Regions from separate parts of the Homo sapiens genome. Here region 2 is linked to region 1. Evidence: promoter capture Hi-C in 16 types of primary human blood cells and fetal thymus (Javierre and others, 2016). All regions are on one chromosome and are shown on one strand. The core of a region is centred on a gene start or on the middle of the fragment in contact, and the rest is flanking DNA. Distances in the headings are between cores, read along the strand shown. Region 1 holds the start of PTPRK-AS1 (PTPRK antisense RNA 1). Region 2 has its middle 13 kb from the start of THEMIS.

Evidence for each region. The method cuts DNA at HindIII sites, captures the fragments that hold promoters and counts their contacts. A CHiCAGO score of 5 or more calls a contact.
Region 2: a contact is called between a fragment that was not itself captured here and the fragment with the promoter of PTPRK-AS1 in region 1, in 1 of 17 cell types (total CD8 T cells). The highest score is 5.5, in total CD8 T cells.

What each region holds. Positions count from the first base shown.
Region 1 is chr6:128,026,455-128,029,154 of GRCh38, reverse strand. It overlaps PTPRK-AS1 (PTPRK antisense RNA 1), which reads right to left and starts at 1,290. Exons shown (of 5, transcript NR_125849.1): 1 at 1,232-1,290. All of the region lies in intron 13 of PTPRK (protein tyrosine phosphatase receptor type K), which reads left to right. The HindIII fragment of the contact is 8,791 bases long and covers 1-2,700 here.
Region 2 is chr6:127,912,529-127,915,228 of GRCh38, reverse strand. It overlaps a transcript of THEMIS not described here. Among named protein-coding and RNA genes, the nearest start is that of THEMIS, 13 kb to the right of the region's middle. The HindIII fragment of the contact is 2,565 bases long and covers 88-2,652 here.

The DNA of each region.
Region 1 (2,700 bases), core at 41-2,540:
CTGTGAGGATGGCACCAAGGCATTCGTGAGAGAGCCAACCCCCAAAACCAAAAACCTCCCACCAAGTCCCATCTCCAGCATTGGGGAATACATCTCAGCATGAGATTTGGAGGGCACAAACACCCAAACTGTATCAGTTGATCAAGAACTGACCATGGAAGATGGATAGTTGAAGTCACAAGCAGTCCAGCACAATTCTAACCTTACCATGAATCTGAATTCTTAGCTCACTAAAGATTTAGGAACAGAATTGGGGAGTAGAATTATGGTCATGTAAAAATAGAGTCCGTTTAACATCCTAACCTTAAATCAGAAACCATCAAAGCATCATATCAACAAAAAAATTGTTTTCACTTATGAAAAATATGAATATTAACACAATTTTGTTGCACACTTACTCTCTGCCATATGTCTTACACTAGGCATTGAGAAAATACTAAAAATACATAGGATATGTTCCATGCTCTCAAGAAGTTGTGAATTGTGAAAGAACCTGATAGTTGAAGTAATAATTTCATGCAGTGTGCCTAAACATGAAATAGAATTCCATACAAAGTGACATTTAAATAGGTAGAAAAACCAGAGACCATATCCACACTGGTAACAGCATGGGCAGAGGTTTGCAGTTAGACATGAAAGTTAATGCAGTGTTCAAGAATATACTGAGGAGTTAGTAAGAAATTAGGCTAAAATGTATGTTGATACAGATATGAGAAAGGGCTGTAAGACTCAAGATTCACTTTATCTTGAGGGCAGGGTGGCAGCTATCAACAGTGCTAAAGCACTTTCTCTTCCACTTTAAAAATTAAAACAGTGTGGTAACCTTAAAAGGTGTTCTGAAACAATATTCTAAGCAACTGTTATCACTTTTGCTTTTTCCTTTTTTTTATCAGGTGCTTACTTAAACATTTCTCATAATTGCAAAGATTGTGACTTGTAATTATTTGTAGTTACTATTTTACCATGAGCTTTACCCACATTTTTATGTGTTTTAATTTTAAGTGGCTAAATATTATTATAAATAGTGTGTGCAGTATAATTTATATTCGTCATTTTCATTTTCCCTGAAATCTTTGTAGGCTATTAAGAAGAACAATGATAGGATCATATTTAAGTTTTAGAAAAATGACACCTTAAAAGCTGCAGGTAGATTAGGATGAGTAGGACTTGGAGTCAGAAACTTCAATAAGGGAGTGGCTGCAATATAGACTAGGAAAGAGGTGATACCAACCTGTCAGTGTCCTCATCGGTAAAAGAAGATACAGCTGGGCACAGTGGCTTATGCCTGTAATCCCAGCACTCTGGGAGGCCAAGGTGGGCGGATCACTTGAGGCCAGGAGTACGCACCAACTTGGCCAACAGAGTGAAACCCCGTCTCTACTAAAAACAAAAATTAGTCAGGCACAGTGGCACACGCCTGTAGTCCCAGCTACTCGGGTGGCTGAGGTAGGAGAATTGCTTGAACCCAGGAGAAGGTTGCAGTAACCTGAGATGGCTCCACTGCACTCCAGACTCGGTGACAGAGCAAGACTCTGTCTCAAAGGAAAAAAAAAACATACAACAAGCCTCATAAGTGCTTGTGAAAGCTAATTGAAATAATATATTAAAAGAGTTTGGCATTTAGAAAGCTCTGAAACGATCATTCATTTAACAGAGGAAGCTATGAACATTTTTTTTTTAAAGGTCAGTTTGACTTTTAGGCACCTGATTTCCTGAAGGACTCTTTGAACTCTTTGAATGTGGGTACTGTTTTATGCATTTTCATGTGATAACTAAACAGCCTGATTTACATTCTTGCCCAATATACGTATTTCTTCAAATAATGAACTAATGAATTCCCGGGCAATAAATACCTTTTGGTTAAATGGACAAACAGTTCTGTTCAGTGGGAAACATGCTAGTAGAGTCTGCTTTTAAAGGAATTGCTGTATGCAGTATTCTAAGAAATAATGAGGAAGTATTTTTACTTCAAAATACTTTGATCATAATATGATGATAGGTATTTTCTTCTCTTGCCTGTGAAAGTGTGTGTTAGGTATGTACATTATGGGGCCAAACTAGTGATTGTTGCTAATTAGGATATATGTGGCGCATTCTATCAAGAATCCCAGTTTTCTGGGCACTGTGAGCTGTAAGTCAAGTCATAAAAAGGAGTGAATTGTCTTTTTCATATATAGCACTGAAATTGACTGGAGTTAATTATTTAATGCCTACCTCCCCTACTAGACTACAGGCTGTGTCACACACCTCCCTCAGCATCTAGCACAGCAAATGGATTTAGTAATATTTATTGAATAGATTAAGAAATACAGAGTGAATAAAATAGGACACTGGTTGGAGTGTTGGGTCAACCACAATTTTGGTGTGATATATTCTACATATCACAGTGAGAAGGAAAATGATATAAAATGAATAATATCCTCCTTAAAGTACTATACAAAAAGAATACTTCTTATATTTTTTCAAGATGATGTAATCTTGTCAAATATATAATATGTTGCATGCCAGTGCTTTCTTAATCCTTAATAGTAATACCAGTAATTGTATATTAAGTTCCTGCTATGTGTCAAATACTTCTAGGTACTTTAAATGTATATTCAGTAATCTTCAGAACAAGCCTAGAGAGCAGAATTTAGTTATTTCATTGTAAAGATGAGAAAAGTGGGTCTCAAAAAAAGCAGATAACTTGTCCCAGATCAC
Region 2 (2,700 bases), core at 121-2,620, 110 kb after region 1:
TCATTTTGCTTCTATGTCTGTTTTCAATTTTGTTTTTTTTCCAAAGGGGAAGTATGATAAACCTCCTTCCACACCCCAGTAAAAGCTTCAAAAGTGTTTTCTGTGGTTCTTCTAAAAGTAAATTTCCTAAAAATAGGACAAAAATGGATCCATCAATGACGAACTGTTACAATGGGACCTCAATCTGTGTAAGATTAAAATTATATAAACTTGATTCTAAAAATGGTTCAATATCAATAAGTAGCAGCTTTTCAGATTCACTAGTAATGTGTAAAATCAGGTCAAAGTGTGTTTCTGGTCAATTACTGTTGTGATAACCATAGCAGGCACACATAAAATATTTTACTTGGCACTTTATCTGTAATATTACTTTGTTTCAAACAAAATAGAACTTTATGAAGATTATATAGTTACCTCCTGGCTCTACTGTAGAAAAGCATGTAACTTTACTGTAAAGTGGGAACAAAGGCGGCAAATGTCATTTACATACATTTGAAAGTTCCTTTCATTCCTTATATTAATGTTTGGTCAACGATGGACTACATATGTGATGGTAGTCCCTTAAGATTATAATACCATGTTTACACTGTGCCTTTTTCTATGTTTAGATATGTCTAGACACAAAAACACCACTGTGTTACAGTTGCCTACATCATTCAGACAGTAACATGCTATACAGGCTTGTAGCCTAGGAGCAATAGGCTATACCTGATGGCCTAGGTGTGCAGTAAAAGTACACACCTAGGTTTGTGTAAGCACACTCTATGATTAACGCAACAATGAAATTGCCTGAGGATGCATTTCTCAGAACATATCTCATTGTTAAGTGACACATGACTATGTTTCATAATGAAATCGTCCCTTAGGAATTTACAAAGTGGCAAGAAAAAGAAAAACTATGTTTTTCTTAGTATCTTCACAGACATGCGTTTCCAGGAGAGCAATACAGGTTGAGCATTTCTGATCTGCAAATCCAAAAATCCAAAATGCTCCAAAATCTGAAACTTTTTGAGCACCAACATGACAACACAGTGGAAAATTACAAGTCTAGCCTCATGTTGAAGTCAAAACTCATTCAAAACTTTGTTTCATGCACAAAATTATTAAAAATATTGTATAAAATTACATTCAGGTTATGTGTATAAGGTGTCTACAAAACATAAATAAACTTTGTATTTAAACTTGGGCCCCATCCCCAAGATATTTCATTATGTATATGGAAATATTCCAAAATCTTAAAAGAATCTGAATCATTTTTTGTCCCAAGCATATCAGATAAATTCTCAACCTGTATAAGACTTGGCCTCCACCATTTTATGTGCTGTTTGCTAAGGAGTTTAGGAGCAATATTTTCTCCCAATTAAGTTCTAGCAAGCACACAGTCCTTGATCATCATTTCCAATCAATACTGGTATTCTAAAATAGAGTACTTGTGATTGAATTCTAATGCATGAGCTGTAAAATGTTATACAAGAGAAAAATATTCAGCTTATTTATGAAGTTCATATTTACTTCAAATACAGATTAAATAATGCTTTGGTGATTAAAAGCCTGAATTTACAGTTTACTTCAACGGAGAAATCTCTCAGTGAGACAAACACTCTAACATTGGCCTGTGTCCAGGTCTGGTCATGATTCTATTCTGTCATCTTGGGGAGGAGAAGGTAAGAATGTAGGTAGAATTTAACCTGGTTCAGGTTCAGATTATTCAATTAAATACAACAAATATGTCAAGTCCATTCATTTGTTTTTTTTGAAAACATTTCTTAGCATAGTGCTGGTGAAGGTATTTGGAGCTATTGAGTGCATCCAATCAAAGTAGACCCAAATCTCCTTTCCCTAAATGTAGAATTCAGGAACAAAGGAAAAAGCATGCAAATGGACACATAAAAAATATTCAGCGAATGGAAACTGAAAAGGAAGAGAGAATTGTGAAAATAATATAAAGATTAGAAAAGGCTTCATAGAGGTAAAGGAACTAGAACTTAAGTGATGAGTATAAGAGACTTTTTTTTTCCATCCAGTATCTATTTCCTCTTTTATGAGGGATTACTTGATGCTCTGCTCTATGTCCAGGCATTTCATGTCCAATGTCGTAATGGTCCTGTGACCTAATCTGGCCAGCAGAGCATTACGTTCACTTGGCCACTGATGTCATTCAGGCATGGAAAAATATCCTAGTCAGACCCCTGAGAAAAGTAATTCATAACAATCTTTTCTCACTGCATTAGGGATACAGATCTGGAAGAGCAAGTCATCCACTTTGCTTAGACGAGAAGATTCATGGTAGAAGCATTGGAATTCAGGCTAAGATCTGGAGGTTTTAACTTCAACATGAAAGCAGTTGGACTTTGTAAGGCAAAACAAACAACATTTGGCCTACAGGCACTATTATAAAATACAAACAGGTATACAAAATTTGTCATATTTTCAGGAAGATTATAGATTTTCCTCTTACATTTGCTTAACACCTTTAAACTTTTTTCAGTTGTGTATTATGTGTATTAATAATTTAAGTTAGGCCATAGAAGTAGGTCATATTCCAGATTAAGAGGTTTGAGAATTCTCAAAGACAGGTTTGGGTTTCTCATGGCACTTCTCAGACCAATTCTGGTTACAAGTCATCCCTGGGTCTAAAATAATATGGAAGCTTGGAAATAACAAGGTAACTTACACAGATCTTCAATTATCTCAGCCTAC